Linked DNA regions of Homo sapiens: all the other regions are linked to region 1. The links are contacts of gene promoters, found by promoter capture Hi-C in blood cells and fetal thymus (Javierre and others, 2016). All regions are on one chromosome and are shown on one strand. The core of a region is centred on a gene start or on the middle of the fragment in contact, and the rest is flanking DNA. Distances in the headings are between cores, read along the strand shown. Region 1 holds the start of MPP7 (MAGUK p55 scaffold protein 7). Region 2 has its middle 26 kb from the start of LINC02673. Region 3 has its middle 34 kb from the start of PTCHD3. Region 4 has its middle 13 kb from the start of RAB18. Region 5 overlaps RAB18 (RAB18, member RAS oncogene family). Region 6 overlaps RAB18 (RAB18, member RAS oncogene family). Region 7 overlaps MKX (mohawk homeobox).

Evidence for each region. Contacts are between HindIII fragments. The CHiCAGO score rates a contact against its expected background, and 5 or more counts as called.
Region 2: a fragment that was not itself captured here is called in contact with the fragment with the promoter of MPP7 in region 1 in 2 of 17 cell types (fetal thymus and endothelial precursors); the score reaches 7.6 in fetal thymus.
Region 3: a contact is called between a fragment that was not itself captured here and the fragment with the promoter of MPP7 in region 1, in 11 of 17 cell types (total B cells, monocytes, naive CD4 T cells and 8 more). The highest score is 11.1, in total B cells.
Region 4: a fragment that was not itself captured here is called in contact with the fragment with the promoter of MPP7 in region 1 in 1 of 17 cell types (fetal thymus); the score reaches 6.1 in fetal thymus.
Region 5: a fragment that was not itself captured here is called in contact with the fragment with the promoter of MPP7 in region 1 in 1 of 17 cell types (fetal thymus); the score reaches 6.2 in fetal thymus.
Region 6: a contact is called between a fragment that was not itself captured here and the fragment with the promoter of MPP7 in region 1, in 3 of 17 cell types (erythroblasts, fetal thymus and M2 macrophages). The highest score is 6.6, in erythroblasts.
Region 7: a fragment that was not itself captured here is called in contact with the fragment with the promoter of MPP7 in region 1 in 1 of 17 cell types (total CD8 T cells); the score reaches 7.6 in total CD8 T cells.

What each region holds. Positions count from the first base shown.
Region 1 is chr10:28,301,040-28,305,451 of GRCh38, reverse strand. It overlaps MPP7 (MAGUK p55 scaffold protein 7), which reads left to right and starts at 2,388. Exons shown (of 17, transcript NM_001318170.2): 1 at 2,388-2,591. It overlaps MPP7-DT (MPP7 divergent transcript), which reads right to left and starts at 2,283. Exons shown (of 2, transcript XR_930772.3): 1 at 1,023-2,283; 2 at 1-53. RefSeq lists a silencer at 2,202-2,841. The HindIII fragment of the contact is 2,637 bases long and covers 1,470-4,106 here.
Region 2 is chr10:27,367,258-27,371,669 of GRCh38, reverse strand. No RefSeq gene overlaps it. Among named protein-coding and RNA genes, the nearest start is that of LINC02673, 26 kb to the right of the region's middle. The HindIII fragment of the contact is 587 bases long and covers 1,623-2,209 here.
Region 3 is chr10:27,446,398-27,450,809 of GRCh38, reverse strand. No RefSeq gene overlaps it. Among named protein-coding and RNA genes, the nearest start is that of PTCHD3, 34 kb to the right of the region's middle. The HindIII fragment of the contact is 4,912 bases long and covers 39-4,412 here.
Region 4 is chr10:27,488,756-27,493,167 of GRCh38, reverse strand. No RefSeq gene overlaps it. Among named protein-coding and RNA genes, the nearest start is that of RAB18, 13 kb to the left of the region's middle. The HindIII fragment of the contact is 5,616 bases long and covers 1-4,412 here.
Region 5 is chr10:27,509,752-27,514,163 of GRCh38, reverse strand. It overlaps RAB18 (RAB18, member RAS oncogene family), which reads right to left. Exons shown (of 7, transcript NM_021252.5): 2 at 4,234-4,289. Among named protein-coding and RNA genes, the nearest start is that of RAB18, 7.7 kb to the right of the region's middle. The HindIII fragment of the contact is 5,210 bases long and covers 1-4,412 here.
Region 6 is chr10:27,530,315-27,534,726 of GRCh38, reverse strand. RAB18 (RAB18, member RAS oncogene family) reads right to left here. Exons shown (of 7, transcript NM_021252.5): 4 at 2,148-2,220; 5 at 874-992; 6 at 733-799. Among named protein-coding and RNA genes, the nearest start is that of RAB18, 28 kb to the right of the region's middle. The HindIII fragment of the contact is 5,728 bases long and covers 1-4,412 here.
Region 7 is chr10:27,731,848-27,736,259 of GRCh38, reverse strand. MKX (mohawk homeobox) reads left to right here. Exons shown (of 7, transcript NM_173576.3): 4 at 886-1,039; 5 at 1,469-1,804. Among named protein-coding and RNA genes, the nearest start is that of MKX-AS1, 11 kb to the left of the region's middle. RefSeq lists an enhancer at 958-2,157. The HindIII fragment of the contact is 580 bases long and covers 2,319-2,898 here.

The DNA of each region.
Region 1 (4,412 bases), core at 1,139-3,638:
GATCCATTCCTGATGATTGGCTTAATGAATGAATGCTCATTTTACTGGTGACTCTGAAAAAGGAAAAAAAAAAATAATGATTTTACTCCACTATCAGCAACTCGATGTTGCCCGTCAGGAATCCTTGTAACAAAATACAAAGTTACCATTGCCTACGAGGTCCTCACCTCCTTCTCCAACCTGTCTAGTAGCACTCTCCTTATGCACCATGATACCCATGCTGGCTTTCTCTCTGTTCCTGCTATACATCACTTTTCTTCCTACTTCAAGTCCTTTGTTCTTGCTATTTTATCTGCCCTGGAGTTTTGCTAAGTTGGTGTTTTCTTATTTAGGTGGTGCCTCAAATCTTAGAGCATTTCTCTTAGATCATTTCTCCTTAAAGCATTTTTCTCCTTTCCCAAAATTAAGTGTGTCTCCCATCCCTCTGGTCACTGTTTTCTTCTTTGCCCTGATCCCGGTCTGGAAGTTTATCTTTTTATTGGATCATTGTCCATCTTCTGATAAAAACAGCTGCAAGTCTGTCTTGTTCAAGGCTATACTCTGAGTGCTTAGTAGAAAGCCTCGTTCATTGCAGTATCTAGTATTTGATGATTAATATTGATTACGTTTGATGAGTAAATGAATAAAAGAATAATCTTAGACATACATTATTTAATCCCAGTGAAAGAATGTTAGTGATGGAATTTCAGGTGTTATTGTAGAAGAAACTTTTGAAGGGTATTCCCTACAGTTTGTTCATACTAGGCTAAGTTCCTCTTCTTTTCCTTACACAATGTAAAAATATTAGATCTCAAAACTATTTGCTCAAAGTACTTACTTTAGGACACGTATTTTTAGACTACAGTTTAGAATTACAGTTATTATTAGAAAGGTTTGGTAAAAACTCTTTTTGTTAGGCAATAAGGTTATTCTGTCCTCCAAAGACCTTTACTTTATTCTCAGGAAGTAAGAGAGAAAAAAGAATTTCTTGTCTTCTTTCTATCAGGTGTTTTGCCCTTACTTCTCTTTAAGTTTATGTTTACCTTAACATTCCTTTCCTTCCTCAGGTTTGCTTTTTGTCTATCTCCATTTTTCACTATTACGTAATTCACGGAGTTGCTGGGGGGAAGTGCTTAATTTCAAATAGCCTGTTTTAGAACTTTGCGAGAATGACAAGAACAAACAGAATGTTAAGGCAGCTAGAGAGAGTTAAGTGAGAGTGGTCCCTAGGTGAGAAATGCTTCTTGCCTTCTAGGCTGACACCAGTTCTGGGGGATGTGTTCTGAGAGCTCATATTAACTGCAGGTCATTGATCCTTATCTCAATCCCCTTCCTCTCCCTTCAGCTTTCCATTCAAAGTCTCTATCACATCTTGAAGTGTTGTCACATTATTTTTTTTCTGATGATTCCCTCCATCAGCTGAGCTTTCCAATTTATATTACCTGATTTTTTTTTGTCTTCTGCTTTTTACTACCCCTTTTTCTAAAGCTTTATTGATTGTGTACTTTGGATTCTAATTCTTCCTATAAGAGTCTTCCTGTAATTCTGTTTGCAGTGTAGTGCTGTCCACATTATGTGTTGGTTACATGATAGGAAGGAGTATGGGGGCACCTCGGTCACATATGTAAAGTTCTTTAAGAGAGCTGAAGGGCGCTGATACCAGTTCATGTTTTTTCGGGGTAGCCCTCAGATATTAAGCATGTTTACTGTATTTTCTTCTATTGTGAAAGAATCAGTTCTCTGGATTTCCTTAAAGTTTGTCTTTACCATTCTCCGCACCCTACTCATTTTTCTATTTAAGAATTTTTTTTTCTAATCATGTAGTACATGTTCAATATGGAACACAAAAAGGTAATAAGAAAAAGTCACCTACAGTGTCGCCAAAGGTGAAAACACCTTATGTCTTTTTTCGTGCATAACAATATCCCTCTCAATCTTATGCAGCATTTTTAAACCTAGGAGACTTGTCTGAATCCAAAGGAAGTTAAAGATTACGTTATTCACCAAGTTCATACTGAAATCAGAGAATCGCAGCGGCTTAAGAAAACTCGCATCTGGCGAATGAACCTGCGTATCCGGGGTTCTCCTCAGGGAGGTTGCTCGTCCATGAAACACACTCCAGTCTGCAGCCACCTGGGAGTGGGAACCAAGGGCGAGCGAACCGGGCGGGCAGGGGTGGAACTTGCGGGGACTGCGGGTATGAGGAGGAGCTACAGAGCTGTCACCAATCAGAGCCCAGCTTTGTTTTCTCTTGCCGACCAATGAGGGAGTTCTGCTGGAGAGGCGTCTTCAAGTCTGAGACGCCTATCGCCTTCGCAGCCTATCAGCAGGCCCCTCTTACCCGCGGGCGGTGCAGCCCCGCCCCGCCCCTCCAACCGCGGTCCCGCCCCTCCGAGGGTGGGGGCCGTGTTGGTTACTAGCCGGGCTGGAGGCGGGGGCCGGGCTCCCACTGGGCTCGTGCGTTCTGCGCCCGCCGCGGCGGTGCCGAGCCCGCTGGCTCCCGATTGTCCTCTGCGGCGGTGGCGGTCGCTGCCTCCTTGCCTCCGGGCCCGGGGCTGCAGGGGCCAGAGCGAGTGCGCCTCCTGCCCGCGGACCGCGGCAGCCCAGAGCAGGTAATGGGGCGCCTCTGGGGAGCGCCTGTCGGAGCCCAGGGCTAGGCTCGGGCGGTGGGGTCGGCCCCCGAAGCTGCTCCCTGCGCCGGCGACCGGGCCGAGCGGTGCCGCGGTCCTCCGGAGCCTCCTGCCGGCCTCTAGGCGCCTCAGCCTGGGAGCCCGCGGCGGGCACCTTGTGAGGAGGTGGGGGCGGGGCCGGGGCAGGGGCGGGGCCGCCTCGGGCGGGACCCTGAGGACCCCTGGAGACCCCTGTTGACGCGCGGGACTCCGGGCGGGGGCGGCGGCGGGGCAGACCCAGAGCGGGGAGAACCGACAGGTGGAGGAAAAACTGCGGAGTTGAGTCAGAGTCCGGCTCCCCGGGGAAAAGAACCGACTGAAAGGGAGCGATAAGCTGGCTGGCTTCTTTTTTTTCTTTCCCTAAGCCAGAAAGGCGTCTTCACTTGGGTCGTGTTAATTACATGTTTTCTGAGAACAGGCGTTTGGCCGTGTAATCTACACGATAGCATTATTTATTTACTTATTTGCTATTTAAAAAATTAAAAGCAGCATTTAGCGTGAATCTATTTGGGGGCTTTTTCTTAAGTGACAGGTAGACCCAGCCGAGTAACTCAGCTTTGTCTGGGCTGAAGTGGGGAGCGGTGAGGTAGGAATGAGGGGGAGGAGTGTTCGTGAGGAATGCCTGTGCAGGTTTGAAAGGATTGTGGGGGTGGGACCTTGTTTCTGTCACTGTGCCATGGGTGGGAGTAGAATTGTGATTTTTTTCTTTTTCTAATTTTTAAAAGCAATATTCACATTTAAAAAAGGGGGGGCTCTCTAAAAACAGTCTCTGTACTCGAGGCTTTGGGGATGCACCTGCTAGTCAGGCAGTAATAGTTTGCAGGTAAATCCTGGGCTATTAATTACGTAATTTGATTTACTTATAAAGAAGTATCTTGAATTGTTGCTGCCTTTCCTTTGACTTGCTCAATATATTGCTTGTTTACAAGTGAATTGATGAAGGTCACTGAGTTTTAGCGGTAATGTCACAGCGATGGCCCTTGGAGAGTTTTCTATGCTCAGGTTCACTCTGGTTCTATAAAAACAGTATTTCCATTTAATCGTGAAGCTCATAGCACTCTATCAATTATATAGTATGCCATCCTCCTACTCTTCTGAGGCAGGCTGTGCATAGCATGTCCATTTTACAGGTATGTCAACTGAAAGCCCTAGAAATGAAAGGAATCCTGCCCCACTTTACTCCTACTTTATTTTATACCTATAATGGATTTAATCCAAAATCTGGGTAAGATTCCCGCCATCAAGCCAACTTCTGCATACCAATTTGATCCCGTATACACAGGTCAGAGGTGGAGATGGTTATTTTCAAGTAAAGAAATATTATCTGCGAGGTTTTTCTTTCCATTCAGGTTGCTTAGCTAGTTTGAATTTCAGGTGAAAGGTAATTTTCCACACAGGCAAAACAAACAAAAGTTAGGAATGCTGTGTGAAAATCTCTATTTTAAATTTTGGGAAGCTTTCCAAATTAGAGAACCTTATTTGTGTTTGCATCTCTAGCTCAGCATTGAATTTCGGTACCTTTTTTTGAATTGAATAGAAATAATTGATATGCAGAAGGAAAATACTAATGAAGTGTAATGCATTTTGATCATGACTTATGACTTTGTTTCGGGAAGTGTTTACTGTAAATTTATAGACGGATTGAAGAATAATTTCTTAATTAGAATAACTTGACCAAAGGAGTTTGGGCATTAGTGTGGGACAGGCTGAAATGGGTAGTTGGGAGTAGCCGCTTGTATGATGTTAAGGCTTAGGGAATTCTAG
Region 2 (4,412 bases), core at 667-3,166, 930 kb after region 1:
GCGGAAGGTGGAAGGCACATCTAACATGGCAGCAGACAAACAGCAAATGAGAACCAAGCAAACGGGGATTCCCCTTATAAAGCCATCAGATCTCGTGAGACTTACTTCCACGAGAAGCATATGAGTGAAACCGCCCCCTTAATTAAATTATCTCCCTCCAGGCCCCTCCCACAACATGTAGGAATTATGGGAGCTACAATTCAAGATGAAATTTGGATGGGGAGAGAGCCAAACCATATCAACCTCTGAACTCAGTATATTTTATGCTTAGGCTCAGGGCTATATAAAACCTTTCTAGAATTAGATTTTGCCACATCCATTCTGATAACAGCCCTCCTAGCTTAACTTGCAGATTATTCCTTCTTCAATCTAGTTCACGTGCGCTAGGTGGGCTCTATTGCTGCCTCAGGCGTGGACCACATGTCTCAGGCCCAAGCCAGTAAGCACATCACGTTCCCCTGGCCTTGGTGCTTGCAGACACAAGAATAATTCCTAGCCTTGTAAGCAAAAGAGCTCCCTGTTTCCTACTGGGCTTACATCTTGGACTCACCTGAGCTTAGGACTGCTGCAGTCATCTTGTCATAAAGCACAGAGAGCCTAGAAGTTCCAGAAGTGATGACGAGGAGGTTGCACATGAATTCAATCCAGCGGGAGGCAGAGAGGAGAAACACAGAAAAAAAAAAAAAAAAAAAAAAAAAACACCCAAGCCCTAACGATATTGTTTGAGCCCAGAATCCAACTATACTGGCAGCAAGGCTACCTGTGGACTTTTTCAGTTAAGTGAGAAAATAAATTCCATCTTTGCCTGAAGTCTTTTGGAGCAGATGTTCTAACACCTGTAAATTAATACAGAAATAAGTATATAACAGACACGTTTAATCTGATGCCATCTCATTTCCAGGCCCCCTCCCAAACTCACCAGAGGCTAGAGTCTCAGAGCAATAAAACTGACACAGAAGGATTTCACAATTTCAAGTCACTTTAAAACCAACATCACAGAAAATGTGATCATAGAATGTTTGGCCAAATTCTATTTTGTAGGCATTTTCAGAAATGCAAATCCCATTTATGGGATAATCAAGAAAAACTACCAAGAGAGTAATTACATGCAATCTGCTTTGATTATTGGTCTTGGCCATCAAAACTCATAAATGCATTAGAAATCATATAACAAAGACAACACATATAGCCTGATCCTGAAGCATGCAAACAGATATCCAAAGTGCTTCCTGCTTTTAATTGGCTGGGTGGTGAATAGGTGTAGTCATACAGTTTTTTCCTTTTCAAGAACAAAGATCTGAGGACTTTGCATGAGAGAAGCCTCATAAAATTGCCAATATGTGGCTTTGGGTTTGAAACTTACTCTGGAACTTAACATTTGTGAAGAAATGCACTAAGCATTCGTCCTTATTCATTAGAGTCACTCCTTCCACATTGAAGTCGTGATACAGAGAATGCAAATTACAAACCTAATTGCACATATGGATTCTTACTTAATGCAATGGCCCTAGTTTTATAGTCTAGGAGTCCATATTTGAGGGAAGGTGGTAACCAAACCTCACCCAACAGCTTGTAATCTTGGAAAAATATGTAAAAAATGAAAAACACCCATATGCCAAGCTTTTAAATGGGAAATTGGTGCCATCTTGTGGTTACAAATATGTAAAAATAAAAAATTTTACCTTTTTTTTTTAGAGATGGTTTCGCTCTGTCACCTAGGCTTATGAAGTGCAGTGGCTTGATTATAGCTGTCACTGCAATTCAAACTCCTGGGCTCAAGTGATCCTCCTGCCTCAGCCTCCCAAGCAGCTAGAAATAAAGCTGCACACCACCGTGCCCGGCTAATGTATTTATTTATTTTTCGAGACAGTCTCACTGTGTTGCCCAAGTTGGTCTCGAACTCCTAGCCTCAAGTGATTCTCCTGCCTCGGCCTCCCAAATAGCTGGGACTACAGGTGCACACCACCATGCCTGGCCGAATTATTTTAAAAATTTGTATAAAAGTGGGGTCTCACTATGCTGCCCAGGTTGGTCTCCAACTCCTGGGCTCAAACAATCCTCCTGCTTTAGCCTCCCAAAGCACTGGGTTTACAGTCATGAGCCACCACACCCGGCCTCACTTTTTTCATATATTAAATAATCATTGCCAAAATCAGGCCCATTTTAAGTAATCATTTCCCTCAGTATTCTGATACACCCCAATAAAGCTTCTTTGTTTCTTCTTTAGAATATTTGTTAAAAGTGTAGACACCTTTCCTTGACAGTCAATTTCACTGCTTTTTCAGCTAGGAAACTCCGATTTCCTGTAAAAATCGTGTCCATGATTACACTTTAATTTTTGGATCAGAGGCAGGCTTTAATTCTGAAAGCTGAGACGATGCATTCATGGAAGAAAAGAAAAGAAAAAAAAAAAAAGCTCAAACCAATTTTTAGACATTAACACAGTAATCAGCGAATGTCTTGAGAGATGGCCCAGGACATTAGAAACAGCACATAACTTGACTTTCAACAGTCCCTGAAAATGCAGATTGACTTCCAGAAGACATAGTGCTCTGAGAAGAGAAGAGTCAAACACCTTCTCAGAAATTGTTGGATTGTTTAAAAAAAAAAAAAAAGCCAAGATAGGCATGAGCCAAGATGTCATCCGAAATACCTCATATTTTGTGGAACTTTTCCTACACAAATGCAAGTGGGGCTAGACTGGAGGAAGTGCCAAGGGCGGACTCACTATGAATGTCAAGTGGTGCCACGGAAAAGCCGGCCGGGCGCAGTGGCTCACGCCTGTCATCCCATCACTTTGGGAGGCTGAGGTGGGCAGATCACTTCAGATCAGGAGTTCGAGATCAGCCTGGCCAACATGGTGAAACCCTGTCTCTACTAATAATACAAAAATTAGCCGGACATGGTGGCACTCACCTGTAATTCCACTACTCAGTAGGCTGAGGCACAAGAATCGCTTGAACTTGGGAGGTGGAGACTGCAGTGAGAAGAGATCGAGCCACTGCACTCCAGCCTGGGTGACAGAGTGAGACTCTATCTCAAAAAATAAATAAATAAATAAAATTAAAAAAATAAAATTACAAATAAAATATATTTTTAAAAAAGAAAGAAAAGCAGAGAAGGCTTTCCTCTGCATTACAAAGACAGTCTGGTAAACCCATGGGCAGATCAGGTCATGAAAATTAAAGGAATTTCCCCAAAAGCAATAATGTTTGGATGGCTTGTATTTATACTAGGAGATAGGACGTCAGTCTAAATTGATATCATAATTTAAATAATTTATTTTTAAGTTTAATAACATACCTCAATATTTAATAGAAAATTCTTTATAAGAACAAAACATAAATATAGAAATTAACTGCCTGGTAGAGTTATTGATAGAAAAGATGGGAATCAAAATAGACCACGATTTAGAGCATGATTGTGGAAATGGCCACATCAAAGAGAAAGAGAGAGAAGTGAGGAATGAGAGAGTGGGGTTTGGGGAGAAGAAGTGGAAGAGAAAAAGAGAAAGTGAGAAGGTCTTATGTAAGCGTAGGGTAAACGCATGTGCCTTAGATTATATGCGGCTGAGCAGAATAAGAGAAATAATAAGGCTGGTTGCAGTGGCTCACACCTGTAATCCCAGCACTTTGGGAGGCTGAGGTAGGAGGATTGCCTGAGGCCAGGAGTTAAAGACCAGCCTGGCCAAGATGGTGAAACTCTGTCTCTACTAACAATACAGATGGTGGGAATCTGTAATCCCAGTTGCTTAGGAGGCTGAGGCAGAGAATTGCTTCAACCTGGGGGGCGGAGGTTGCAGTGAACCGAGATTGCACCACTGCACTCCAGCCTGGGCAACAGAGCGAGACTCTGTCTCAAAAAAAAATGTTTTAAAAATCAGCCAGGCATGGTGGTATGCACCTGAAGTCCCAGCTACTTGGGAGGTTGAGGCAGGAGAATCACTTGAAAAAAAGAATCGTTACCCAAAAAAAAGTTTTCTAAAAAATTAGCCTGCTGTGGTGATGCATACCTGTAGTCCTAGCTACTCAGGAGACTGAGGCAGGAGGATGGCTTGAGCCCCACAGTTCGAGGATGCAGTGAGCTATGATGGTACCACTGCCCTCCGGCCTGGGCAGCAAAGTGAGACTCTCAAAAAAAAAAACAAAAAAAACAAAAAGGAGTAATAGTAACAAAAGGCAACATTTTTTGGACACTCACCCCATGCCAGGTGGAATAGTAAACTCTAGTTATGCAACATTTCATTTAATCCTGTTTGGAAAAAAAAAAAAAAACAACAACAATGTGATTTTCCCCAACACTACTAGACTTTGGCAGCTAGATGAGACTTTTCATAGAATTTTTTTCCAACTTAAAAAAATCTACAGATCACTTTAAATATGTATGGCATTCTTCATCAGCACCTGCCATAA
Region 3 (4,412 bases), core at 1,245-3,744, 850 kb after region 1:
TCCTGAAAAAGTAGTAAGTATAAAAAGCTTCAAAAGCTTTATTAGAGAAAGAAGACAGTAGACACAAATTTATACTAAGAATAGAAAAAGGGTCTCAAAGTACAGATAAAGAACATACGTTTAATCTTAATCAATAAAATATGACAATTAATTTGAAAACAAATGACATAAATGCATTTTTAGAAAAATATAAATTACCAAAGTTGGCTGAAGAAGAAATAAAAAACCTGATTTGCCCTATACTATCAAAGAAATTGAACTGGTTGTTAAAATTTCCCATTCCTTACAGAGACAGGTTTTAGACCATTAAAAAAAAAAAAATTCCATTCCTTAAAGGCACTAGACCCTGATAATTCCACAGAAGAGATTGAGCAATCTTTCAAGTAACAGGTTGTCCTTATCTTATAAAAACTCTTGTGGAAAATAAAAAGGAGAAGTGAGGCAACTTTTTAATAACATTGTTACTTACCCACATTAAATAATAAAATAAAATTGTAGGCCAATCTCACCTAAAAACATGGATGCAGAAATGCTATATAAACTATTAGTAAATTGAATCCACATTGTATTTTCACATATAGGGTTTTCTAGCATCCTTCGAGGTCAGAAAACATAATAACACCATTTACCAAATACACAGATTGAAGGAGGAAATCATATGATCTTCCCAATGTATCACACAGATGATCTGATAAAATTTAACTCATTCATGATTAAAAGAAAAAAATTGTAGAAAATTTTCCTTACCTTGATAAATGTATAAAACAAACAAAAAACCCACCTTAATCTTAATGTTGAAAATATTTCAAATAATAACAGCTAACAAACACATAGCCCTTATTGAATTTCACATGTTTGAAATAATTTCACATTTTAAATAACTTGGTCTTGGTAACAACCTCATGAGCTACATATCCTCTTCTCCATTTGATAGTTGGAGAAATTGCAAGAGAGTGAGATTCCGTAACTTGCCTCAAGTCATAGAAATAGGAAGAGGTACATCTGAGATTTGAACACCTTGGCCCGAGTCCATGTTTTTAACCAGGATGTCATAAAACCTTGGAGCACATCCCAAACCTCTGAATTCCCATTGCCCATGGGAATGAACTCAGGTATCTCCTGGATTTGGGCTCCCTCTGGGAACATCACTCTGGTTTCCTCTCTGAGATTTCTTCAGATTCTAGTCACTCTCCGTGATTTACCTTTTATATAGTTCAATCTCAAAGAGCAGTCGAGTCTAATTTATCTTATTTTCCTTTTTGTATGTTGAGTGTGGCTTTCAAGATCTCATTTGTCCTTTTCTGCCTAGTTTGAGCTTCAAAACTGTAACACTTCTATTAAAGAAATCTCTATTTTTCGTTACCTTAAGCAGTCCCCAGTTTGTCTTCTGCTGATTCCTGGGGCATCTTTTTTTTTTTTTTTGGTATCACTATACTACAGGAAATTAAAGATTCATTTCATTGTATAAAAAGGAATTTAATGAAAGTCAAAAACAATGTAAATGCTTCTAAGAGTTTTACAATCAGCATTGTGAACCTCACCACCAAGTCAATAGGAGCCTGCATTCTCTTGCTTCCAAGCAAGCAAATCCCAAATGCATGTGTCATACTTGCTAATGCCCTACTAGACCAAGCGTCACATGGCCAAGCCAGAGCCAATGTGGGAGGGAACCACAAAAGGTCATATATGTTGGGATCCATGATTCAGTGGAGGCCATCAATGAGTCTACCACCTGCCCATAACATTATATGCATTTTAACAATATGCTTCCCCTGTATTCATAGACTATATTCATGGTCATTTCCTGCTGCTGTGGACTTTAGTTCCTCCTTCAGTTTCTTTCGTAATTGTTCACATATCAGTTTTAGATCCTCTCCTCAATATCTGATACAACTTACTGAATCTTTAGATTTTTTAACCTATAAAAAGAAAATTGAGTGATTTTATAATGTTCTGTGGCAGACTATTATAAAAGTGAAGAAAAATTTTTATAGGAGATTTTATATCATTTAAATTCCCAACAAGAAAGGAAGGGAGAAAAAGCTGAAGATGGGGCAGACGAGAAGATGCAAAGACAACTTGTATTTCCGTTAGAACAGAGGCATCTGAACAGATCCTAGAAGACCTATTTATCACAGAATCCATTTCAGCCATTATACGTGCCATATTTTGTTTGTTTGTTTGTTTTTATAAACAGAGATGGGGTTTCACCATGTTGCCCAGGGTAGTCTCGAATTCCTGAGCTCAAGCGATCCACCCACCTTGGCCTCCCAAAGTGCTGGGATTACAGGTATGAACCACCATGACTGGCCTATACCCGCCTATTTTAATTATATAATTTCAGGAGCTATGGGAAAGCAAGCAGCAACAGCTAAGTAGTGAGAATAGGGGATACTGACATAAGAAAACATTCTTATCTTTGCAACTGATGCCTTTACCCTCACCCCATCTTGGCTAACAGTGGAGTGTTCTCTAAGTACTGAATGCTGGGATGAGTAAGACACAGCCCTTGTCTCTGAGTTGCTCATAATCAAGCGTAGTGTAAGAGACAGCTAATCCATAACTAAAGTATAATTTTAAAAGAGACGTAGTTACTAGTGGGCAATTTTACTTTATTTATGTCAAGTTTGGTTTAGCTGACCTAAGGGAATGGGACTTAGATAGAGAAAGCAGGGAACAGAAAATTACGGAACACGAGGGCTGCTTGGGAAGAAATGGAGGAAAATGGAATCTGCATATGGCAGGAGATAAAGGAAGGAGAGATAACTTAGCACCAAGTGATGCTTTACTTGATTAACTTTATCTGAACTGAATATGGGTAACTAAGAGAATAAACAAGTTTTTCATTTCTAAGCTATGTTCTTGAATTACCAAATACCCTCACCCTTCTCATGCAGAAAATATTTTCTGGCCTATAGAGAAGCCCATCCTGAAAAGTGGACATCATTCCCAGATTAGAGGCCAGAAGGGTTGGCTGAAATTGAGAGGAAGAACCCGAACAGACATGTTCACCAGAAGCCATGTAGCTTCTAGGCCATGTTACGGCTGCACCCGCAGCAGAGTCTAGAGCTCTGAAACCAACAGGAAAGGGTTGCACAACTCAAACACAGCAGAGGGGCTCATAGAACATTTGGCCTGATTTTATTTTCTACACATTTTAAGAAAGCCAAATTCCTTCTATAGAATGATACAAAAAAACCAGTAAGAAAGTAACAAATGGTGGTCTTTTTCAACTGACTTACTAAACCCACACAAGCATAAGTAATCTGGATATCTGGATTACTAAAATAAAATAATCAGAATAGATCATCTAAAGTCAGGAGAGTAGATTGAACCAGATCCTGAAACATACATGTTTTACTATAAAATTTAGTACTTTGTAGTGACTGATTTGTTGAGTAATTGTAGACATTTAGTTGCTGTGTTTTGAAGGGGTAGAAAAATCTGCTGATGTGTAATAAAGAAATACCATAAGACCTGGCACGGTGGCTGGGGCCTGTAATAGCAGCACCTTGGGAGGCCAAGGCAGCAGGATTGTTTGAGTCCAGACGTTTGAGACCAGCCTGAGCTACATGGCATGACAACATCTCTAAAAAAGTTTTTTTTTTTTTTTTTAGATAGCCGGGTGTGGTAGCATGCGCCTGTAGTTCCATCTACTCTGAAGGCTGAGGAAGGAGGATCACTTGAACCCAGGAGTTGGAGGCTGTAATGAGCCATGATCATGCCACTATGCTCCAGCCTGTGTGACAGAAAGACCCTATTTCAAAAAAGAAAGAGAGAGAGAGAGAGAGAAAGGAGGAAAAGAAAGAAAGAGAGAGAGAGGAAAGGAAGGAAGGAAGGAAAGAGAGAGAAGGAAAGAAAGAAAGAAAGAAAGAAAGAAAGAAAGAAAGAAAGAAAGAAAAGAAAAGAAAAGAAAAGAAAGAGAAAGAGAGAAGGAGGGAAGGAAGGAAGGAGAGGAAAGAGAGAAAGAAAGAGAGAGAGAGAAAAAGAGAGAGAAAGAGAGAAAAGAAAGAGAAGGAGGGAAGGAAGGAAGGAGAGGAAAGAAAGAAAGAGAGAAAGAGATAAAGAAAGAAAGGAAAGAGAGAGAAAGAAAGAGAGAGAAGGAAGGAAGGAAGGAAGGGGAAGGGAAGGAAGGAAGGGGAAGGGAAGGGAAGGGGGGGAGGAGGAGGAGCAGGAGGAGAAGGAAAGAAGAAGGGAGGAAGGAAGGAAGGAAGAAAGGAAGGAAGGAAGGAAGGAAGGACCATAAATACCCGGTGAGCCTGGGTTTAGACTTGCTCCATTGCATATTACTGGTGAATTCCTGCACTCTGACATTTCATCTGAAATGCTTAGGAGAGCAGCTGAGCCATTCTCTCCTTAACATGGATATGGTCCAAGAAATGGAATTCACAAACTGATTACTCTATCTACCA
Region 4 (4,412 bases), core at 970-3,469, 810 kb after region 1:
TATTCAGAGGAAAAGAAATCAGTATATCAAAGGGATGCCTTCACTCTTGTATTTATTGCAGCACTATTCACAATAGCAAAGATACAGAATCAACCTGTGTCCATCAACAGATAAATGAATAAAGAAACGTGGTACATGTACACAATAGAATATTACAAGCCATAAAAAAGAATGAAATCCTGTCATTTTCAGCAACGTGGATGGAAGTGGACATCATTATGTTAAGTGAAATACACCAGGCACAGAAAGACAAATATTGAATGTTCTCACCCATATGCGGGAGCTAAAAAAGTTGATCCCAAGGAGGCAGTGTAGAATGATAGATACCAGAGGCATGGAAGGCTATGTGCTGGGAGTAAGGGAGTGAATGCAGATTGGTTAATGGAACAAACATACATTTAGATAGAAGGAATAAGGTCTAATGATCAATAGTGGAGTAAGGTGAGTACAGTTAACAACAGTGTATCATATATTTCAAAATAGCTAGAAGAGACAATTTGAAATGTTCTCAAAATACAGAAATGATAATTACTCAAAATGATGGATACCTGAAATACCCTAATTCAATTATTACACATTCTATGCATGTAACAAAATATTACGTATACCCAATAAATACATATGAATATTATATATCAATAAAAAAATTTAAAACACACGCAAAGTAGCCTGAAGCAACCTGATATTAACTAATCAGTTTTTTTCTATTGTTCTTTCTCCCTGACCCAGCCTTACAAGAAAAAAAATAGCTTTGAAACGACTAATATGCTCTTTGTTCTTTGCTTCTGCTTTCTGCAGCTCTTCTCTGTCTATAAAGCCAAACTCTTCTGCTCAGCTCATCAGAACACTTATTCTGTTTTGTGGAATGAAGTTTTGCCCTATTCTGTAATTGCAATGAAGCTAACTGAAATCTTTAAATTTGTCCTACTTTTGTTCTTTGATATTTCAAAATCTGCATCATCTCAGCACTGGAATCTGCTTATTGTCTTTTTGAGTTGTCCCTGATTCTTTGTAAACTGAATAATTTTGGATTTTGAACAGTTTACATATTATGTTATGAGACTTTGAATCTTATCTAAATCCTATGTAGACTGTTTACATTTTGTTTAAGCAAGGAATGAGGAAACAAATTTCAAACTACCTTCTTCAATTTTCAACAATTTTGCAGGGCTATTGGATATATCCAATGTATGCACTACCCAATGGCCAATTTGGCATAAGAGCAGTCATCTTTGGTATGCTGGATAGGATCAGACCCAACTGTGTGAGCTTGGTAATTAGTCCAGGATAGTTACCCCTGCTATGCCATGAATGTTCATAACTGAGCCCATGTCCACGGTCATGATAGAGGCAGGAGGCAGACAAATCTATGGCAGACAGGAGCGGGTCCCAGTGAAACCCAACCTTCAAGCCAAAGACAGTCCTGGGTAAATCCTTGGACTGGATTGAGAACCTCTTTTCCCATTTGGTGTGCTTTCCTCTGATTGATTCCCGCCCTTCACCTATTTTACATATACCTACCCTTTCCTAATTGGTTTTCTGAACTGTTGTGCCCACCTTTGAGTGGTGCCTTTGTTTTAGCCTTTTTTTTTTTTCATACTCACAAACCAATCAGCACGCACTCCCCATTCTGACCCCATAAAAGCCCCAGACCCAGCCACACTGAGAGACAGACCACCAAACTTCAGGTGAAGGATCACCCTCACATCCCCCATCTGCTGAGAGCTGTTTCGTTGCTCAATAAAATTCTTCTCCACCCTCCTCACCCTTCGATTGTCAAAGTAGCCTCATTCTTCTTGGATGTGGGACAAGAACTCGGGACCCAACAAACACAGGTAAAAAGAAGGCTGTAATACTGTGGCCATCTGCCCTCTGCCATCAACCCAATTATATTGTCAAAGAAGTATCCATTTAGGAATAGGCTGCCTCTCCCTCCACCAAACCAACAATAAGCCAGTCCAGCACCATATCAAAATCTCTTGCCCTGCTCTTCTCATGTAAGGGTACTCATGGCTAGTATGCCTATAGCTCCAGGGCACAAGTAGGTGCTGGCAAATACACACCATGGAAAGTCTAGGCCCCTACCTAACTGTCCTACCTACAGCACTTGGAGAGTCAGAGCTTCTCTACTCACAGTGCCAGCTGGCTGGAATCTGCTCTATGAATCAGGCCAGCTGGCTGGATTCTGCTTCCGGCCTCATTCCTGCCAGTCCCATTGCCTGGGGGCTGTGTCCTGTTCTTTTTCTCTAGTTTTGGGATAATTCTTAGAACAACCTGGCTCTGTGTCTAATACTCCCACTGCTCCTGTTCCAAAGCATGCTTGTGTCCTTGTCTTTTAGATTAGGTTCTCCTTGATGATAAACTGAACTGAATCTGTCCATGTCTGTTAGTTTTGATCTTTTGTTGATAGGACAATTCTCCCACTTTCTGTTTACTATACTTTTTGTATCTGCCTTTTATTTTAATGCATTGACTACCATTTTAGAAAAAATAAAATAATAGTGACAATAACATGCATCACTTTTTTCTATTCCTAATTTTAATGGGAATATCTGTAGAGCTTCACCTATGGTTTGTCATTTCTCATAGCTTATTAACGCAATGTATTATGTTGGATTTTGTAATAGATTTTGTTATATTATTTTGTCCTAAGATTCATTTGGTAAGTTATTCCTTTATATACTGTTCAATTATATTTTCTGACATTTCAATAATGAGTTTGCATATGTAGACATATTCCCAAGTGAAACCAATTCATATTTCCCTTTAACTTACTGTCACTTAGATATGGGAAAGCACAGCAGGCACTGTTCTAAGATAATCATTGATATAGTGTATACGCAATTCTTTATGTAAGACTAGATATCTGTTGTTTCTTATTATCCCAGATCTGTTTCTCCTGGTTCAGTTAACACACTCCTTTTTCCTTGGGAAACCTCTCGCTTAATGTCCTTTGAAAGAAGCTGATCTCCTATCTCACCAATTCCAGAGGGTGCCCATTAAAAAGGTCCAGCCCTATCAGCTCACTCCCCGTGTGAAAATGAAGTAATTCAAGGATGGGTACATTACTCAATGGGGTGAAATTCTGGGACCCTTGCAAAAACTTTGAGAAAAGAGAAGTCCATTTTGCAAGAGATGCCAACAGGTTAAGATAGGGCCCTGGAGGTATTAGGAGCCCTCTAGCTGCTGAAAATGAAGAACCTAAATAAGAATAGCACCTAGAGAAAAGAAAGTAACTCCAAAAGCTGGAGACAGCTCCTGACACCACAACTGGATCCTCTGGATTGAGTCAGACTCACAGCCAGATACTCATAGATCTTTCTGTGACATGACCAGTGGATTCCCTTTTTAAAGAAAATTATGAAATATTTTAAACATATACATCTATAGAGAATATGAATAACCAGTTTTATCAAACGTATTAAGCATCAAACATTATGTTATTAATGTGAAGCACTAAACATTAAAGACAAGTTCAAGACCCCCCTGTGTGCTCCTCCCTGATCCAATCTATTATTTTCCTCTCACCCAGAGGAAAACATGATATGATATGAAAATTGATATGGTTTGGCTGTGTCCCCATTCAAATCTCAACTTGAATTGTATCTCCCAGAATTCCAATGTGTTATGGGAGGGACCCCGGGGGAGGTAATTGAATCATGGGGGCAAGTCTTTCCCATGTTATTTTCATGACAGTGAATAAGTCTCACAAGATCTGATGGGTTTACCAGGAGTTTCCACTTTTGCTTCTCCCTCATTTTCTCTTGCTGCCTAGATGGCAGCCTCTCACCATGATTCTGAGGTCTCCCCAGCTATGTGGAACTGTAAGTCCAATTAAACCTCTTTTTCTTCTCAGTCTTGGGTATGTCTTTATCAGCAGTGTGAAAACGGACTAATACAATAATTACTGTCATAAATTCAGTGTTTGTCATGCCCATACATTATGCTATATTTTTACCTACATATTTATGCATCCTCAAACTTACAGAATTTTATATATTATTATTTTATCAAATTATACAAATACTTCTGCAACTTGTCTTTTTCATCCAGGGGGTTTACCTATGTTTTGGGGGTTTAACTATGTTAAGAGATGTAGCTGTAGTTCATTTAAAGTGCTATATTCTATGGCCATAATAAAAAAAAATCAAAAAGTAGTAGATGTTGGCATGGATGTGGTAAAGAGGGGACACTTCTACACTGCTCATGGGAATGTAAACTAGTACAACCACTATGGAAATCAGTGTGGAGATTCCTTAAAGAACTAAAAGTAGAACTGCCATTTGATCCCACAATCCCACTACTGGGTATCCACCCAGAGAAAAAGAAATCATTATACGAAAAAGATACTTGCACACACGTTTATAGCAGGACAATTTGCAATTGCAAAAATGTGGAACCAACCCAAGTGC
Region 5 (4,412 bases), core at 1,329-3,828, 790 kb after region 1:
CTGAAGAAGTGCTGGTTGTCCAGAACCTGATATTTGTAGGAGGTTTATGCAGAAGGCCAGAGTGCCTCCAGTTCTGGACTGACAACTTTTTCGTGATTCAGAGATTTACCTAAGAGACAGTTTAGCATTTTACTTCTCAACAGCCAATGCAGACAGGCAGTCTGGAGGTTTTTCACAATGCAGTCATCTCCTCCCCAACTGCTATAGAGATAGACACATATTACTTCCTGCAAAAATGGCTTGTTTATGTGACTCCTTGTTTGGCTTCATTTCCCCGACTTCTTAGAATTAAACCAGGTGCAGGAAAGCTCCTGCCTTGAGCTGAAGAAACCCACTTCACTTTTGTAAACAAGGGGTTTAGGTTTTATACCTCAGGGGGGCCTTGCAGTTTCATGGGTGTTTCTTGTTGTCTCTGAGCTCCACAGCCACGGCATCCTACCTACTTCTTCCCACATGCAGCCAGCCTGATGGCCACTGCTCCTGGCAACATTTCCACCTATTTTGTGGCTTGGGGTTTTTAACTGTCTTCTAGTTTAGTGGAATGCTGGGTTTGTGTGTCAGTTTTTCCCTCTCTTTGTTGTTTTTAGCTAATTGCCAAGAAAGAAGAATGCTAACTTTATAGTACCATCTGCAAATCCCAAATCCAACAATTATCTTAAAAGAGTATTTTATGCAAGACAGAAACTTAAGTGTCTCACTAAGTTACTAAAAGGTAACAATACACTTTCCTTACTACTATTTTACTGTGGGGTAAAATACCAATTTTCATAAAACACTAATTTTCACAAGGCCATTAAGTAATTGTTTTTATGTTTAAAACTCATGTGTGGGCTGGGCGTGGTGGCTCACACCTGTAATCCTAGCACTTTGGGAGGCTGAGGCGGGTGGATCACTTGAGGTCAGGAGTTCAAGACCAGCCTGGCCAATATAGTAAAACCCCATCTCTACTAAAAACATAAAAATTAGCAAGGCATGGTGGCACACACCTGCAATCCCAGCTTCTTGGGAGGCTGAGGCAGAAGAATCACTTGAACCTGGGAGGCGGAGATTGCAGTGAGCTGAGATCATGCACCACTGCACTCCGGCCTGGGCAACACAGCGAGACTCTTGTCTCCAAAAAAAAAAAAAAAATATATATATATATATATGTTATTACCTAAGGCTGAAAGTAATCTGATGCTTCAATGTAAAAGATATTTTGTTCAACATATTCAAGATCTAGGGCCTATTTGGGGAACAAATTACATATATTTTCACCAGCATACTATAATCTTAGTATTTGTCTTTGCAGAAGACAAAGCCTTTTTAGTAATAAAGACAACCCACGATTTGTCATGCCACAAGTCCCCAAATTCCATTTGGGTTTGTAATGAAGACAGTTAATATTATATGTATGTTCATTCCTTCAGTAAAATTTTAACTTTAGGCAAGTTTATTTTCCTGCCAGTTGCTACTGCTCTCCTCCTGGCTAGCCAATACCAATACGTACTCAGGCAGGTTCTGACCAAAATAAGGTTTTACTACTAAGTAATTTTTTATAGGAGTAAATAATACACCAGTATGGGCACAGTGGCTCACACCTATAATCTCAACACTTTGGGAGGCCCAAGGTGGGTGGATCACTTGAGGCCAGGAGTTCAAGACCAGACTGGCCAACATAGCAAAACCCATCTCTACTAAAAATACAAAAATTAGCCAGGTGTGGTGGTGCATGCCTGTAGTCCCAGCTACACAGGAGGCTGAGGCACCAGAATCACTTGAATGGGGAGGTGGAGGCTGCAGTGAGCCAAGGTTGTGCCACTTCACTCCAGCCTGGGCAACAGAGCAAGACTGTGTCTAAAAATAAATAAATAAAATTAAATAATAATAATTATTATTATAATACAACAAAGCCAAATTACAATGGATTTTGAATTCGTGTTTTAAATGATTCCCTTTCCTATGACACAAATAAGAGTAAATCTGTAAATCTTAATATCATGCAAAAGCTAAGTAATGCCTAATTTATTGAAAATTTAGAGGCACCATGAGTTCATATGAAGAAAAAGAAACAAACAAACATGAGCTCCTCCTGAGCTGGGCATGGTGGTACATGGCTGTAGTTCCAGCTACTTGGGAGGCTGAGGCAGGAGGATCACTTGAGCCCAGGAGTCTCAGGCCAGCCTGGGCAACACAGTGAGACACTGCCTCACAAAAAAAGAAAAAAAAAGAGCTCTTACTTACAGAATTCCAAACAAGATACATAGACAGAGTGATGGCATTTTAAAAAAATCCCCATTTGATAACCATCACAGTTGGAATGAAAAGATCATATACTGTCCTTATCACTTGTCACAGGCAAGAATTATCAATGGATGCTACAACAGGAGGGCAAAAAGTGTAAGAAGGAGGATACCTATACAGTCTCAATGTATCTCTCTACAAGAAATATATTAGTTATGAAGGGAAAAATAATAACTTCACTGACACTATGTTCTGAAAAACACTTCTGTGGAATTGCTGCCAAAACTGCATAACCTGAATCTAACCGTTAAGGACATACTGGACATACACAAATTGAGAGACATTCTACAAAATAATTATTTACTCTTCAAAAATGTCAAGGCCCTGAAAAGGCAAATAAAGACTGAAGAATTGCTGATTAAAAGAGGCTGAAGAGGCTCGACGCGGTGGCTCACACCTGCAATCCCAGTACTTTGGGAGGCCGAGGTGGGTAGATCACTTGAGGTCAGGAGCTCAAGACCAGCCTGGCCAACATGGTAAACCCCGTCTCTATCAAAAATACAAAAAAAAATTAGCCAGGCGCAGTGGCATGTGCCTGTAGTCCCAGCTACTTGGGTGGCTGAGGCAGGAGGATCACTTGAACCTGAAAAGTGGAGGTTGCACTGAGCTGAGTTGGTGCCACTGCACTCAGCCTGAGCGACAGAGCTAGACTCTGTCTCGAAAATAAATTAATTCATTAATTAAATGAAATAAAAGAGGCTAAAGAGAAATAACTAAAATCAGTGTATGATCCTGGACCCGAAACAATTATTTGTCTTTTGCTATATGGGACATTAATGGGACAACTGATAAAATCTGTGTATAGACAATAAAATGTATCTATGTTCATTTAAGAAATACACATTAAAGTATGCAGACGTTGAAGACATCATGTCTACAATCTACTCTCATTTTTTTAAAAAAGAATACTGTGTGTAGAGAGAGAATGATAAAGCAAATGTGACAAACATTAACATCTGGAGTAATTTAATAGGATACATAAGAATTATTTGTGCTATTTTTACAAATCTTTGAGTCTGAAATTGTTTCACAATAAAATTTTAAAAATAGACATACAATCAATGAAAACAAATAAAGCCAGTTAACAGAAACTCTTTATTTTCCCTAACAATAATGCTAGGATCATCTTTACTATATTCTCCTCATCAGATCATGAAATTTTAACAAAACCTCCCAATTTACAGATGAAGTTAGTAAGTTAAGTGACTTCATCAAGATTACATGTAATTCAAGGCAAAGTCAACCAAGACTATTATCTAGCTCTGACTCAGCTCAGCTACCTTTCAACTATTCCAAGTGGTCTCTTCATCCCTTTACGTTGTCTGCAGTCTAAACACATGATACCAAAATACTTACCTCTATCTTCTCATATATTCTCATAAGTTAGTGTGACTAACCACTTTCAGGCGATCTAAATCTTATCCTTAAAAGGCATTTAAGTATCATTGCTCCTAACAATCCTTAATAACTAGTATCAATACATATGTGAAGATAAGAATACACGTCAAACACTGTAGCAAATGCTGAACATACAAAATTAACACACTCTGTTAGGTCCACGATGACAGAGACCAAGTTTGTTATTCACTATTATAACCCCTCCTCTTAGTAGCAGTCCCTGGCATACAATAAGTATTCAAATAACTGTTGTATATTACAAAATAAAAGACAATCCATAGTATAGGAGAGAAATGTGTGTACAGATAATCACATTAGCAGTTTTAATAAAGTATCATGAGACAACAGATAAGGAAGTTATTTTCTCTTGGTAAGATCTAGAAAGGCTTCAAAGATTTAATGATACCAAAATTAAGTCTTGAAGGACAAATAAGATTTCAACAGACATGGAGGCAGTGGGGTGGTGAGAGGAAGGTAGAAGGATTTAGATTAAAAAGGCCAAAGGCAAGAAAATACTGGCCATTTCTATAGAATTTTTAAACACAGGCTTACCTATTGTTGCTGCAAGTTCTGGATCAAACGTATCATCTGTGAACCTCAAGAGCAGGCTGAAAGAGATATTAAAAAGACAGGTTGGGAACTTGAATTTTCTAATCATATGATAAATGTGTTCATGATTATTTGGTCACAAATTATTAGATGCAGATAAAAATAACTGATGTAGGCCTGTT
Region 6 (4,412 bases), core at 1,179-3,678, 770 kb after region 1:
ACTAGAGTGCTTTCAATAAACTGCCTTTCAAACCTGTAATAAGGCACAGGGCCCAGGTGATTCTGACATAGCTCATCCAATTTTCTAGATGAGGGGTTGGCAAACTCTTTCTGTAAAGGGCCAGATAGAAAATATTTAGGCTTCGTGGGCCGTATGGCCTCTGTTGTAACTACTAAACTCTGCCATATGGCACAAAAGCAGCTACAGACAACATGTAAACACATGGACATGGCTGTGTACCAATACAAATGGTGGGGCCAGATTTGGACCAGGCTGTAGTTTGGCAACTCTTGCTGGACCATGTTTCTCAAAAATTAATGTGCATACAAACCATATGAAGAGCTTGTTAAAATGCAGATTCTAATTCAGAAAATCTGGGGTAGGGCCTGAGCTGAAGCACTGCTAACAAGCTCCCAGGTGGTGCTGATGGTATCAGCATATGGACCAGCAAGGCATAACTTTAGCACTGGGTGCCAAACTTTACTGAATGCCACTATATCCTGTGAGGAATGATTTGACTGTTTTTTAATATGATTTCACATAATATGATCATACATTTTACAGGAAGAAGAATAAAGAACCTTGTTATATAGTTAGATTTTGTAACACAAGGCAACTAGGAACAATACTCTAAACACATTTTATGGTTCATAAAGAAATAAACTTGGCAAAAACTCCATTCAAAAATTCCTCATTAATAATGAAAGGACAGATATTCATTCACACACCTACCTATAAATAACATGGAATGCTTTCGTGCAAATTTCAGGCCTTCATTTCTATCGACTTCACGATTTTCCTAAAATATAAATGCAATGATTAAGAAAGGCTACCAAAATATAGAACCAAAATGCCAAGTGTCTGCCTTCTTACCTTATCGATTTTATTTCCAACTAGCATGTTTACTATGTCATTTCTTGTACAGTATGTTTCCAATTCATTTAACCAATTATCCAGTTTAACAAATGTATCTCTTCTTGTGACATCATAAACTGAAATAAAAGGAGTCATTTGTTAAATAAGCATTAAAGAAAGAAGCAATGGCGTATTTCTGATATGTAGCTAGGAGTTAGCATTACTAAGCAATATAGACAAGTCTTTTTTTTATTGTCTTCAACGATTAATATTGAGTGTCTACTGATCCAAATGGAAGAAACAAGTGTTTTTTTTTTAAAGCATACACATTTCAATCCTATTAACATATACTGTCACAGAAATGAAATTATATCCTGTGTAATAAGTGAAAACACATTTAATACCCATTAAAGCAAAACAACAGCTATTCCCATTCATAATGATGAATGAGGTCTATCCAAAAACCAGAGTGTTTAGATTCAAATCTGTGGCAAAATATTAAAAAAAAAATACATGAATGTAAACATCTATGACCCCATTAATTTGTTTATTACAAGAACCAAAATTTACAGCTTTGAAAAAATTGTAGTACAGTTAGTAGATGGGTTCCTGGTGGTCTTCCTGTTATCACTTTCATCTTATGTCATTCTGCATTATAACAAAAACCTTATTAAAGTGTTTTATAAACTCAAGAGATGCTGAACCAAAAGGCTGTCACTACCAAGCCATAATATTTAAAAAAAGAGAATTCTACCTATTAATACAATTGATCAATATTCATTTTAAACAGTTTCCCAGGAATATCAAGAACAAGCACTTTTCAACAAATTACACTGAGAATCCACATCTGGTTTCTAAATTTTGTTTGATTATAAATCAATAGTGTTAAGTGCTTTGTGATATTTTTAGGACTAATAAAGCAGATTCTACTAATCAACAAATACTTTTCGTCCTTTATAAACTACAGCAAATATTAATATGCTGATAACAGAAGCCCAGTTTCTGTAATACTCCAAGACAGTCCAACATATGCTGATTAATCCTCAATTACGTTCTCATTGACATGTGTTTTCAAACCAAATAAATTAGCCTTGTCTATTTTTTAAGTGCTAGACAAGACTAAAATCAAAAGTTTTAATATTCATTAATATTACATGAAGTTAATACAACTACAAGTTACATAAAAGTAGCTCTAACGAGAAGTAAAACAAAGACATATTAACTTTCACAGACTAGGACAATCAGAAACTCCAATAAATATTTTTAAATAGTACATTAAAGTAAACACTTACCTAATATAACACCCTGTGCACCTCTATAATAGCTGGGAGTTAATGTTCTAAACCTCTCTTGACCAGCAGTATCCTAAAAATGATCATTATTATTAAATTAAACAAAGTATAAATAGACCTTCAATATACTAGTTTAAGAGTAGAAAGTCAAACAGCATTACTAAAAATAGTATTAATGCATGAGCTCATTAAAAAACTGGAACTTAAATAAGATGTGTTCGCTTACTGACAAGTGTCACAAAATAAAATTATTTATAAATACTGATCTCTAGAAAAATGAAACTATGTAAAGGTTTTCTGCTGTTTTGAATTTAAGACTTTTATCATACATGAAATGAAACCCATGGTTCTAAACTCCAGCTGCACAATGAAATTTTCTGGGAATCTTGAGTCTAGCTTCCAAAAAATTTCTGCTTAATTGGTCTAAGGTAATGACAGGAATTTTTTTTTTTTTAAATCTTACCAGGTGCTTTTAATGTAGAATCAAGGCTGAGAACCACTGATTTGAAGAAAATTATGGGATGTCTTACTTTAGGTAACAGATTTTTAGGTTGGGCTCTTTTAAGTGTTTTCTATGTATCTCCTTTTGAGAAAATGCATATAACCAAGCCATTCTTTATTACATGTTATTTCTGACTCATGTTAGGGTTAGTGAACAATGTACACTAGGTAGAAAATGTAAATTTCATAAAGCAGGGACTCATCTGTTTAATCACCAGTTTAACCATTGTGCTGAGACCAATTCTTGAAAAAAGGCAGTTGCTCAGAATTTGTTGAGAAAAAAAAAAAAGAATGAACCTATTTAACAAGCCTTTACTTCCGGGCCCAATTCCTTCTCTCTCTTGTCTTTCTACCATCCTTGGACTATGGATTCAAGGTACCTAAGATTATACAAAGCAGCTCAGCCCACCACCTGTTTTATTAAATAAAGTTTTATTGAAACACAGCAGGCCTATTTGCTTACGTATTGCCACATGGCCCACTTCAGGATTGGACTATTTCCTATCTGGCTCTTTAAGAAAAAGTTTGCAGTCTGCTGATGCAAAGTAACCTAAAGAAAAGTAAAAGTAAAAACATGTATCAAACCTCAACTTAGCTACCAGTCCCACTGCTGTAAATGAGGGTTTGTTATGGGACAAGCAGAAGCTCCCCCAGATATAAAAATGTTAGAATAACCTGTAAGAGGTTTATAAGATTGGAGAAGAATTCAAACCAGGGGCGTGAGGGGCTTCAGCAAGACAGTAGGGAGGATCTGCAGTCATTTATAACCCCAGAAGAGAAACTTAAGAGGAAAGTAACGTTTCAATGTAAACCACTTTGAACATTCACCACTCTTCCACAGATACACTTACATAAATTTGAAAGCCTTTCCTTCCAGATCCTTACCACCACAGAAACTAATCCCCACCCTGCCATGCTTAAGTGAAGAATTAACAGATTTAAAGTAAATGTTCTGAACAGATAAATTTATAAAATAAATAATTTTTCTCTTTACAAAAATTCTCTCTGCCTCTAAGTTTCTTACAAAACCTGCCTTGGATTTTAAAATTATTCAATTTGCATATTTACTCACCTTTTCAAGAACAATAATATAAATTAAAAGCTGTTTAAAGCAAAGTGAACTTGCTATATAAAGCAGATTATAACTTTGATAACATGAGACAAGTCAATATTGTAGTCCATTAATCATTAATGAAACGGTATATGGATGCCCAGTGATCTTTTTTGATCACTATGCTCAAGTAATCAAAACCCAAATTTGCAGGGAAAAAAAAAGTAATCAACTAGAAGCCAAAAGATGTAACTACTATGCATATCATAGTAAAATGATTACTATGTGTATCAGTAAAAGTGTCACCACTTTTAGGAAGCAATTGGTAATATATATAATAAGAAACTAGAAATGCTCTTCATAGCCTTGTACTAGTACCTATTTCAGACAATCTGATTCATACTCAATAAAAAATGTATATTTTTAAATGACAAATCATTATGAGAACGTATCCTAGCTATCTGCTTACATGCAAAAAATGACAAATTAGTAATATTCAAATTATTCAGTATCCAGATACATTATAACTTTGAGAACTGCACCATGTTAAGCATTTAACTTTTAGTAGTACAGACTATCTGTTTTAGAGAGAAAGAAAAAAAAAAAAGAAGGAAAAGCCATTACTGAAAAGACAAGCCTTGGATTTGGAACAGTGAATTACTGAATTTGGAAATTTAAGAAGCAGCTATTTTTCTATACAGTGAATTAGTGAA
Region 7 (4,412 bases), core at 1,359-3,858, 570 kb after region 1:
CATGGTTCTACCTCTGTTTTGCTAACGCCTCTTTTGGAAGCGAACAGATCCCACTTTTTTCATCTCTAATGGTTTCCAAAGCTTGGCCCTTGACCCTGCTTTCACTCTCTCTACTCTTGCAACTTTGACTATTACCTCTGTGCCTTTTCCTCTTGAATTTGCTCATCCCCTCCCTTCAATCTCAGATACCACTTTTATTTTCTTACCAGACATGTCACCAGTATTAGCACCTCAAACTAGACATTGCCCAAGCCAAACACATCATTTTATCCTCAGAAAGTTTCATCTCCTTCCCCAAATGCACTACCCTTCTCTTGGTTCCACAGGTTTGATGACTCAAGGTCATCTTTAACTCTTCCCTCTTCTTCAACCCCTACAATTTCTGTGGAATTTCACTTCTATTTGTTCCTGTGTCCTCTTTATTGGGAATGCACTTCCCTTCCCTCTTGACCTGACCTATTCTGGACTTTCTTCAAAGGCTCACTTAACTTCCTCAAAAAGGCTGGAGTCATATATGAAAGTAACCCCTCTTTCCTTTGGACTCGTATCATTTTAATGTCTTGTATGCCATTCATCACATTCTTTCTTATACTAGTTATTTGTATACCCTCCTACTTCTCTTACTGGACTTTTCTCTTATTAAATTTTTTGATGTCAAGGCCTTTTCATTTTTCCTTATTCCACAAATACACTAAATGCTCAGTGTCTGTAGTAAGCAACATGTTTGTCAAATGAATGAATGGATGCGAATGTCCGGTATTCTTATGTCCTGAGAATATTTAATGATCAGAGGTGCTGAGAGAGGCTTAGCTCCTTTATGAGAAAATAATCGCACCATGGATAATGTTTTTAAGTTTTGTTAATTGAAAAATAATACTGTTTTAGGTGTCAAATTGGTTTGCTAATGCAAGACGTCGGCTTAAGAATACCGTTCGACAGCCAGATTTAAGCTGGGCTTTGAGAATAAAGTTATACAACAAGTATGTTCAAGGCAATGCTGAACGGCTTAGCGTAAGCAGTGATGACTCATGTTCTGAAGGTTTGTTAATATTTTTATTTTGCTTTCTTTGTTTTGCCTCTATTAGCAAGTTCACCATAATTGCTATTTTTAAGGTTGCTCTCACAAAATATGATGGTGCCTTAACGGTTCTTTTTTATTGCATGAAGTAACTTCATTTTTATAATACTATAAATGACCAAAGGAATGATGGCCATTTCCTCTTGTTTATAGATATACCATGTGTCAGAATAACATATTCAGTGAAATTCATTAAAATTAAAATACCATAAGCGAGAGATGACATAAATATTTGCTTTCATTGCCTAAAAATTGATCTTGACTATCAAAGATAATTTTATATACTTTAAATATATTTCCTTTATATATTTTTAAGGATTAAATATAAGAGTTGGGTGGCTGGGGGAAAGTATGCATACCACCCTACTTAGTGATACTGTTCCACTTTAGATGGAGAAAATCCTCCAAGAACCCACATGAACGAAGGGGGCTATAATACCCCAGTTCACCATCCTGTGATTAAAAGTGAGAATTCGGTCATCAAAGCGGGAGTGAGGCCAGAGTCACGGGCCAGTGAGGACTACGTGGCACCCCCCAAATACAAGAGCAGCTTGTTGAACCGTTACCTTAATGACTCTTTGAGACATGTCATGGCCACGAACACTACCATGATGGGAAAAACAAGGCAAAGAAACCACTCGGGATCTTTTAGCTCCAATGAATTTGAGGAAGAATTAGTGTCTCCATCGTCATCAGAAACTGAAGGCAACTTTGTCTATCGCACAGGTAAGTCCGTGCTTTCTGTAGTAATTCCTGCGATACCTGTTTAAAGCACAATTAAAACTGCATCAGAGGGATTTATTTTAACAGGTATAAAGACATCAGATTATTCACATATTGCCCATAATTCAGTTTTAAAGCTTTCGTTTTGTTTAGAATTGCCAATGGATACATTTGTTAGTAGATTATGGTCTTACTGAGAAATTTTCAGTTTTCATATTAAAGACAGGAAGTTTTATTCTTTTTATATTTTTTAATTTTAATTTTTTAATATTTTCATTTTGTTTTTATACAAAAATTAACTCAAGATGGAAGAATTTTCATTCTTTATAATAATTTTAATCTTCAGAATAACAATGTTTAGGGGGGTGTATACTGGCTTTTATGAATAATTTATAATAGAGGATAGTGCCGGATTGTGGCCAGTCCTGCAAATACTTTGTATTTTATCTTTTCTGTTAAATGCTTTGATTGCTAAATAGTGATGGTAAATGAAAACAAATTAATAGGGTGTCAAGCTTTTGTGAAAGAAAGGTATAGGTCTGGCTTCCATTGCTCTGGAAATTTTACTCTCATTCCTGAAAAGCATAAGCAGGGATGAAAAATAGCTTTTAAAATTTTACTTTCCTTCCAGAAATAAAGGATCGATTCCTACCTGTCCAAAACTTTCAGATGGAGTAGTAGGTTTGGTAAAAATTTCTATCTTGACTTCAGTTCCCAGAGAGGTTTGCTCTTAAGAAGTGTATGAGGTGACTTTGGAACAAGGAATATGCATGACCAACATCTGGTGTAGACAGAGTCTGGGTCCTGAAAATGTCAGCAAATGAGATTTAGAATATTAGAGCTGGAAATAACCTCAGAAAACATCTAGACCAGGCACATTACATCACAGATAAGAAAACCCAGACCAAGAACACATAGTAGGTACTCTCCTCCAGATCTCTGAATCTGCACAAGAGATAGGAAGAACATCACTACTATAATCACTATTATTATCCCTACTACTACCAATCATGTATAGAGTAGTTATGGTATACTAGGCCCTATGATATAAACTATACACATTTTACTACATCTTTTCTTCATAATATCAAGAAGCTTGGTCCATGAACAGTAGGGCTTTATTAAGAAATCTAAAGTTGCTCTGTTAATGTACCCTTTAGATCATTTCACCAGCAATCTGATTTTCAAACGTTTACAAATATATATGAGACAAATGATCTACAAAGATTCAGAGAAAATATCAATACATTTCTAAAGACTTAAATCAACCTCATTTTCTCTTTGCATCACCAACTCCAACAATAAAAACAAACTCCAAACACTCAAAATTACAGAAATTGTCTTGTAAATAATAATTGGGTCTAGGAAGAAGAAAAAATAAAAGAAAATTTGGCCAATAATGAAAATGAAGCTGGGCAAGGTGGCTCACAACTGTAATCCCAACACTTTGGGAGGCAGAGGCAAGAGGATTCCTTGAACCCAGGAGTTTGAGACAAGCCTGGGCAATATGGTGAGACCCCCATTGCTACAAATTTTTTTTTTAATTACCCATGCATGGTGGTGCATACCTGCAGTCCCATCTACTTGGGAGGCTGAGGTGGGAGGACCGCTTGAGCCCAGGAGATCAAGGCTGCAGTGAGCCGTGATCATGCCACTGCACACCAGCCTGAGGAACAGAGGGAGACCCTGTTGCAAAAGAAAATGAAGACACTACATATTAACATCTGACTGTTGTGACCAGAGAAGAGCTTGAAAGTAATTCAGAGTTTTATGAATGTTTATTTTTAGAGACAGGGAAAGAAATCACATTGTTCAAACAGATAATTGAAAAATAAAATAAAATAAAAAAAGGTCAAATGGGAAGCTGAAAAATAAATAAGAGTTGACTCTTTTAAAACAATAATAAATTAAACAAGCAAAAATCGACGCAAATTAAAATTGGAAATTACAAAGGAAAGAAACAACAATCAATAAACAGTTATTAAACAAAAAAGGTTTTAAAAAATTATGATGAAGTACTATGCACAGTTGTTTGGCAATATACTATATGTAAATGTGTATTTAAATAAATTGGCATTCTCCACACAAATTAAAAGTTCATAAACAAGAAAAGTTTTAAATGGCCAATAACTAGGGAAAAATTAAGATTTTTAGTCAATCCAATTCCCAAAACACATGACTTAATACATCCATTTCTTTTCAAACTTTGAAGAAGTAATTAATGCTCGTGTTTTATACATTTTTCTGGAACATATAAAAAGTATCAATTTTAAAAAAAATGTAAACGTTATCCTACTCTCAAATCAGATTAAGACTGCATAAAAGTCAAGATCTTTCTTTATAATACTGATACTATGAAAATACTTGAGAAATATTTATAATGTAATATTGAAAAACAATTCAAAATTGTGGAAACACTATAATACAGTTATGACAGTACAAATGTGCATAGGCAAATAAAAAAAAATGACAAATACATTAATTTTAATGAGACAGAGTAATTGGTAATCTTTTATTTTAAAATATTTTTCTTATAAAATTTTTAACATTGCCTGGTAAAAACATAGATTAGATGCCTACGCAATTTTCCCAGTGTGGTGAGTCTTCTGAA